Regions from separate parts of the Homo sapiens genome. Here regions 2 and 3 are each linked to region 1. Evidence: promoter capture Hi-C in 16 types of primary human blood cells and fetal thymus (Javierre and others, 2016). All regions are on one chromosome and are shown on one strand. The core of a region is centred on a gene start or on the middle of the fragment in contact, and the rest is flanking DNA. Distances in the headings are between cores, read along the strand shown.

The links. Contacts are between HindIII fragments. The CHiCAGO score rates a contact against its expected background, and 5 or more counts as called.
Region 2: a fragment that was not itself captured here is called in contact with the fragment with the promoter of FKBP4 in region 1 in 1 of 17 cell types (naive B cells); the score reaches 6.0 in naive B cells.
Region 3: a contact is called between a fragment that was not itself captured here and the fragment with the promoter of FKBP4 in region 1, in 2 of 17 cell types (naive CD4 T cells and activated CD4 T cells). The highest score is 5.6, in naive CD4 T cells.

The regions. Positions count from the first base shown.
Region 1 is chr12:2,793,659-2,796,311 of GRCh38, forward strand. It overlaps FKBP4 (FKBP prolyl isomerase 4), which reads left to right and starts at 1,312. Exons shown (of 10, transcript NM_002014.4): 1 at 1,312-1,586. The coding sequence starts at 1,482. All of the region lies in intron 2 of ITFG2-AS1 (ITFG2 antisense RNA 1), which reads right to left. RefSeq lists enhancers at 191-736, 737-1,281 and silencers at 1,131-1,510, 1,541-1,600, 1,951-2,360. The HindIII fragment of the contact is 2,886 bases long and covers 1-2,653 here.
Region 2 is chr12:1,938,491-1,941,143 of GRCh38, forward strand. No RefSeq gene overlaps it. Among named protein-coding and RNA genes, the nearest start is that of LINC00940, 3.2 kb to the left of the region's middle. The HindIII fragment of the contact is 230 bases long and covers 1,197-1,426 here.
Region 3 is chr12:2,005,333-2,007,985 of GRCh38, forward strand. It overlaps a transcript of CACNA1C not described here. Among named protein-coding and RNA genes, the nearest start is that of DCP1B, 2.2 kb to the left of the region's middle. The HindIII fragment of the contact is 1,529 bases long and covers 527-2,055 here.

The DNA of each region.
Region 1 (2,653 bases), core at 62-2,561:
AAATTCAGGCTGGGCGCAGTGGCTCACGCCTGTAATCCGAGAACTTTGGGAGGCCGAGGCGGGCGGATCATTTGAGACCAGATGTTCGAGACCAGCCTGGGCAACATGGCGAAACCCCGTCTCTACTAAAAATACAAAAATTAGTCGGCGTGGTGGCGGACGCCTGTAGTCCCGGCTACAGAGAGCCAAGATCGCACCACCGCACTGCAGCCTGGGCGACAGAGCAAGACCCTGTCTCAAAAAAAAAAAAAAAAGAAAAAAAAATCAGCCAAGACTTGGAAAAAGAAATTTAAAAAAGGAAAATTCATGCAGCCAGTAACTATTGGGACATCACTCACCAGGCACTATGCTAAACTGGGGTTAGGTGCTGAGCAAAACCAGGCCCCTCTCTAGATGGCTCTCTAGGTCCCACGACCATAGCTTAGGTGACACCGGCACCTGCGCGCTCCACAGCCTGTCGAAAAACACTCGGGAAGCAAACATTGAGAAGAAAATACTCCTTCTGTGGGCCTTTAGGAAAACCGAGTGACTTTTTTCGTGAGGGGAACCCATCTTTGTAAGCATTCGCGGAAACGGCAGTTTTATTACCGCCGGGAAGGGTCCCCTGAGTGTGTGCCCCATCTGAGTTCCGAGCTGGGCGGGCCATGCCTTGCCAACCCCGCTGCTCGCAGCATCTGCAGGCGCTGAGCGAGGCATCGCTGCCTGGCCGGGGCTTCTCGGATCTGGGGAAATCGAGGTCGCTTTCCCCGGCTCTCTGCAGCGGGGCAGCGCTGTCCACTCACTCCCCGCTCCCCGCGCACGCCCTTGCCCTCTTTCCCCCAAGTAGGGAAGGGTCTACGCGGGTCATAGCAGAGAGGCCACGCCGCCCGTGGTGACGGCCGGTCCCGGGGAGGGGGCGCCGCCACTGCCATCCCGCAGCCTGCGCTCCCCACACCCCGCCGCAGGCGCAGCGGACTGGTGGAGTGATGTCGGGAGATCGATCGAGAAGAATCTGGAAGAATCCGGTTAGACAGGGAAGCGGGCGGGGATGGGAGGGAGGGAGGAAGGGCCAAGGGAGGCCGCCGGGGAGATCCCGAGTCCGAGGGTCCCAGGAGAAGGGGGAGGGGGCAGGCAGCCAGAAGGAGGCAAGAACCAAAAAAAAAAAAAGAAAAAAAAATTCCGAAGCGCCCGCAGCACTGAGCCCGAACCGGCTCAGTCCCGCCGTCTCTAGAAAGTTCTGCACCCCGCCCCCTCTGTCTGCGCTCCCGCTCCTCCCAGCCCCTCCCTCGCGGCGGGGCGGGACCAATCGCTCCCCGAGCCGCTCCTGACCCACCTACCCCAGCTCTCGCGCCGCGTGCAGAGGTGCTCAAGCCTCCTCGCGGTCCGCAGTCAGTGCCGCCGCGCCCGGCCTCCCGCACGCCCCGCAGGTAGCGCCCCCGCCCGCGGCCCAGAGTGCGCTCGCGCCGGCACCAGCTCCCGGATAAACGGCGCGCCGCGCGGAGATGACAGCCGAGGAGATGAAGGCGACCGAGAGCGGGGCGCAGTCGGCGCCGCTGCCCATGGAGGGAGTGGACATCAGCCCCAAACAGGACGAAGGCGTGCTGAAGGTGAGGGGCGGCGGGGCCTGCGGAGGCGTCGGAACCCGGGGCCCCGCGGGCCGCCCTTCCGCCGCGCCCGGAGCCCGCGGCCGGGCACGGGTCGAGGCGGCCGCCTTTGCAGCCTCGCGGCCGTCCCGCCGGGGGCCGGTGGCATCGCCGTCCCGGACCGGGCTGCGTCGTTTAAGGCACCGAGGCCGGCCATGCGCTCGGCAGGGGGGCGGCCTAGGTGCGCGGGCCGAGGCCCCAGGCTCCCCAGCCGGCAGCGCCCGGGCCCGGGCAGGGGGTCGGGATTGCAGTGCCCACCCCGGCGCGCGCGGGGCGGCGGAGAGGGGCGGGGCGAGGCGACCGCCGCGGGCACCCGAGCCGCAGCCCGGGGCCAGGCCGGGCCTCCCACGCCACGCCGCCCCCGACCTCGCGGCCCCAGCGGAGCTGCCAGCCGCGGGCCGCCTCGTTGGTGGCGGTGCCAGGGCTCGCCCACCCGGGCGGTGGAACACGGGCCAGGACGGGGAGCGACTCCCCACAGTGCTTTCCTGGCCCTTCGGCCTTTGTGCGACGCAGGCGCGACAGGGTTCCGGCGCCCTCCCGGGGTCCCCTGCCGACGCCGGGACCCAGCGAGGTCCCCACTCGCCGCGCGGCGCCCCCTCCCTCGGCCCCGGGGAGGCCGGGCGCGGGGCATGCCGGGAGCTGTAGTCCCCTCCCCCCTCCGCCGCCTCCCGGAGCCAGGGCTGCGGGGTGTGGGGCGGGGAGGAGGCGCTCTGCTGTGGAGCCTGCCGCCGAGTGACCGCTCGACTACAAATAGCCTGGGGAGCTGCGGGGAGGGCATCTTGACCTGGGCCAGGACAACCTGCCTTGGGTCGGAGCAGGTTCCAGGGAGAATCAGAGATGGTGAATTCCCAGCCTGCGTCTTATGCCTTCTCCCCATCCGCTGCTGCGTCCTCATCCTGGCTTCCCACCGCTGAGCTCCGCGTGTGCGGCACCCACCTCAGGGGGCCTTTACCTGGTCCAGAAGTGCATCTGTCTTTGCACCAGATTATTGGGGACCTCAAGCGTCTGCTCCAGCGGCTCTCCTGTGGCAT
Region 2 (2,653 bases), core at 62-2,561, 860 kb before region 1:
ATAACCCTTTTGATCTATTTCTTGGACTCACTAGAGAAAGTCCTTTTGTACAAAGACACTCTCATCTGCTTTGCTGTATAGAAGAAATAAGCACTCCATCACCAACTGCCCTTTGAAGGGTGACTTCGTCTTTGGTCTAAATGAATTGGGCCTGTCCCTTTCAAAATGATGTATTCCAGTAAAGGATGGAGAATTTATTATTTTTCAAAACAGATGACTGTGGTGTTGACCTAGAAAGGCCCGACTGAAGCCTGCAGGGCAGGTCTGACCATGCTGGGCTTGGGTTTGTTCCCCCGTCGCATCAGAACATGGGCACCTTCTCACATTAGGTACGGCAACTGATATTCTTTCTGTTTTATTTACTCGGTTCTGAAGCAAAAGAATAAATATTTCATGAAATTAGCCATTTGCTACTGCAAATACGTTAGGAACATTAAGTATGGAATTCATCTCTCCTTAGCTAGCGAAGCAACTCTAAACATGTAATTAAGATCAAAGATACATTGTTAAGGTTGCCAGCAGTTAATCAGATCATTGATTTTGCCCCATTTTTGTGCATGTATCGCTGAGGCAAGCACTACGATCACTGACTTTGAATCCAGCAGTTAATCAGATCATTGATTTTGTCCCATTTTTGTGCATGTATCGCTGAGGCAAGCACTATGATCACTGACTTTGAATAACAGATCCAAGTGTGTCTCTGTCCTCGCCCTGTTCTCCTTATAAGAATATTGAGATACCATATATGCAATTATTAATTTCAAGTGTTTTGTGAAAACTTTGCATGGTTTATCACTATGTTAGATGTTGTAGGAGATACCAACGAAACAAAAGAACTCACCCCTTCCTAAATGTTGGAGGGTAACACAGCAGACTCCTCGCCAAGGTCTGGCACATAACAGGGGTTCAGTAACAGTCAATCCCTTTTCCACCCACCCTTTCTCTTCACAAGAAAAAGCACCCTCCTGCGGGAGAGTAGGGGAGGTGGTGTTCTAACAATGCTTTCACTCGATGCTGTGGCTGAACAAAGGTCTAGAGCTTAAAGTCCAAGCCCAGGTCTCAGAAACGGTAGGGAAACCTGTTTTCCTCACGCTTCCATTTTATGAACTATAAAATGAGAATAAAACACCTGTCGGCTGTGCAGTAATCGAAGATCTTTTTATTATCCGAGAATAAGAAGTGCTATTGAAACGCAAAGCTTTATTTATTACAAATACTCAGCAGGGACGAATTCCCATAGATACTCTTAACAACTTGGCAGGGGCTCTTCTGACTCCTTCCAAGATTAAGCTCCTCATCTCTGCGAACATAAAACTCGATCTGCTACACAGCTTGCAGATCATGACGCCCTGAACATCACAGTGACAATCTCCTGTGCCCTCCGCCTCAGCGTGTTCTGCTAAGGGTGATATACTATCCATTCGGAAGCTTAGGCGGGCACATCCTGCTGCTTCATGGGCTGGGATGGATGAAGTGTTGCTGGAAATCTGGGCCATTTGTCAACTCCTAGAACATCTATCCTCTAGAAACTAGCTATAAATACCTTTAGAAATAACTTCCTTCAAAGGATTGGGTAAAACATGCCAACTGGGTTTTTACAAATGAAAGGTTTACTTTGTCTGGTAAAAGAAAACCGTCGTTACTTCCAAAGGCTCATTAAAGCCTTTGTAGGTTAACTTGTGGGACGACACTGCCACCTGGTGGTCGGCGTGCACTGTGCGCACGGAGCTCCCCAATGGAAGTTACACACTGCTCAAAGAACCACCAGACTTATTAATAAAGAACTAAGCTCTGAGAACAGCCCTTCTCACAGAGACACTGATTCTTCTGAAGTGGCTCCATACATTTAAGGAAACATACTAAGCTTGGCATTTACTGAGTGACCTAAGCAAAGAATTTTCCTACCCGCTCAATTCTTAGTACCAGGTGTACTGAAGGACGTGATTTCTAAAAGCAAAACAAAACAAAAACACTTGAAAGGCAGGCCTGGTGGTGACAAAATCTCTCAGCATTTGCTTGTGTGTAAAGGATTTTATTTCTCCTTCGCTTATGAAGCTTAGTTTGGCTGGATATGAAATTCTGGGTTGAAAATTCTATTCTTTTTTTTTTTTTGAAACGGAGTCTCGCTCTGTCGCCCGAGTAGCTGGGACTACAGGCGCCCTCCATCATGCCCGGCTAATTTTTTGTATTTTTAGTAGAGACAGGGTTTCACCGTGTTAGCCAGGATGGTCTCGATCTCCTGACCTCGTGATCCACCTGTCTCAGCCTCCCAAAGTGCTGGGCTTACAGGTGTGAGCCACCGCGCCTGGCCCCTGAAAATTCTATTCTTTAAGAATGTTGAATGTTGGCCCCCACTCTCTTCTGGCTTGTAGGGTTTCTGCAGAGATATCCACTGTTAGTCTGATGGGCTTCCCTTTGTGGGTAACTTGACCTTTCTGGCCTCCCTTAACATTTTTTCCTTCATTTCAACCTTGGTGAATCTGAAAATTATGTGTCTTGGGGTTGCTCTTCTCGAGGAGTATCTTTGTGGTGTTCTCTGTATTTCCTGAATTTGAATGTTGGCCTGCCTTGCCAGGTTGGGGAAGTTCTCCTGGATAATATCCTGAAGAGTGTTTTCCAACTTGGTTCCATTCTCCCCATCACTTACAGGTAC
Region 3 (2,653 bases), core at 41-2,540, 790 kb before region 1:
TAGGAAAATACTTCTGTGCTTGAGTTGTAGGCCGAATTCATGTTTTTATTTTTATTTTCATAAAACATTTTTACTTGAAAGAAAGATGGGCAAACTATGATTATTCAAACAGGTACTTGACAGACATTTTTCTGAAAATAAATAAAGTGTGCCTGTCACTTTCAGGAAAACAAGGGACAATTACTGCTGCCAATGATAATTTTTAAGCCTTCAAGCCAGAATTAAAAGTTTAGAAAATGTGTATCTACTGCCATGAGCTTGACATCTCAGTACTTAATGTTTTTTTTTCTGATGAGATCAGTGATGATATTAATGAGCGCAATTTTAACAAATCTTGTATAATGGAAAGTGTCAATATCTCAAAGATCTGCTTAACTCAGTGGTCCAGTATTTTCCAAAAGACCAATGTCTCATGCTACATAATCATGCACAGGCAAAAGATCCATTCAAGGACAAGGTGGACTAATGGATTTTTAATGTAACAGTATGAAAAGTTAATAGGATTTCAGATAGTACATTGCAGCTAAGCTTTGAGAAACTCCAGCTTGTCAAGTTTTGGTATATTATCCAAGAAGAATATCCACAATTGTCTGAAAAACTCTATTAAAATATCCATCTCTTTTCCAACTACATTATCTACATATGAGGCCAGAGTTTCTTCATATACTCCAAACAAAACACACATAGCCCGGGGTCTTTAAAGTTATTTTTAATTTCCAATATGGTAAATATAGGTGGGTATAACTCACATAAACAAAAGTTCTCTGAGGGAGTCCTTAATAATTTTTAAGAGTGGGCCAGGTGCGGTGGCTCCTGCCTGTAATCCCAGCACTTTGGGAGGCTGAGGCGGGCGGATCACAAGGTCAGTAGTTCAAGACCAGCCTGGCCAACATGGTGAAACCCCGTCTCTACTAAAAATACAAAAATTAGCCAGGAGTGGTGGCAGGTACCTGTAATCCCGGATACTCGGGAGGCTGAGGCAGGAGAATCGCTTGAACCCGGGAGGCAGAGGTTGCAGTGAGCCGAGATCCTGCCACTGCACTCCAGCCTGGGTGATAGAGCGAGACTCCATCTCAAAAATAAAATAAATAAAAAGTAATTAAAAAAATAATTTTTAAGAGTGTAAAGGAGTCTTGAGACTAAAAAGTTGAGAATGGTTGATCTAAACCATTTATCTAGCATTAAATATTAGAACAACTGTGCAGACATTACTACTCACATTCATAAATTCTTACCTATTTGATATAGAAATATCATAGATACGGCACACATACCCTCTCATAATAATATGTTGCAATATAATCTTTGCAGTCACAATTTCAATTGTACTGAAATTCTTGGTTAAGCTGCATTTTGGAGTCTCAGTCCTATTGACTCCCAAGCCTAACTTCCCAGTGGGGAAGAATACAGCAATGGCTTTCAAACAACTTTTTTTTGACTGAGGCTGGGGTCATTTGCAGTCTGACTGAGAACATATGTTTATATATTTATACCTGATATTAACTAGAATAAATGTTTCAATACTAAGTATACAGACATTTTTTAAAATGCTATTTGTGACTTTGTAAATTGGTTTCATGACCAACTAATGGATTGTGACCTGTAGTTTGAAAAACATAGGGCTGCAGCAACTGAGCAACCACACAAAGCTGACTAGACAACTTTCCATGTTAGTTCACTACCTTTTTCCAGTGTTACTGACCTCTTTGCTCTTAATCACATATGTGCTTCTAAAAACAAGTTTAATCTGTAATATGGGCAATGGAGAATTTTGTGATTAATTCTTGAACTAGTCACACTCTCTCACTTGATTAGCTGTTCTAATTTTGATTTTTCAGCATGAACCCACAGATTCTACTTTGCATTTCCCTCGTACATATAATGAGGCATTGTTTTTCTTTTGTCTGTTAAGTTCCATGATCCTTACACAGATCATTGTCCTCATAATTTTTCAGTCTTTCCATCTTTAAAGTGTAAAGAATAGATCATGGCCTCCAAAGAACGAATTGCTTTGAGCTCATTAGAGAAGACAGGCAATATAGGGGCCATTGTAAAAGCTTAAATGTTCATAAAACAAAAGTGTATACAAGTCTTAGTGATCTGTATGACTACAATTGCAAAGCATTTATGGAGTGCTCACTTGATGAAATTCATTAATTCTTCATGATTTATTATTGCTTCTTGTGTCTGTGCTGAAATTACATGGTCATGTCTTCTCCAGTCTTTGATCTCACTGATGAGTAAGATGAAGATACCCTTACTTTGCTTACGGGGAAAATTTCACATATGTGAACAACATGCTAATATGACCCTTAGTAGAGAAGAGTTAATTTTTTGTGTGTTTAGAGTTAATGAAACAACCCATCTTCTGTTCTAACCTCCTTGTATCTGAACTCTTTTCTCCCAAGTATCTTACACATTCCTATCTCTGTACCTTTGCCCATCTGTCTTCTTAGCTTGGAATGACCTTTTCCTGGAAAACTCACCTCCTGTCTTCTCCCATACAATCCTTTCAGCCTATGAATCCTCATTGCATTCTGTTGCGATTTTTCTTGTGGCACTTAGCTCACTTTATCCTGACTTAGACTTATTTATTTACTACGTTACATATACATTTTTTTCCAATTCTAAAAAAAAACAGTCATTGTAATAA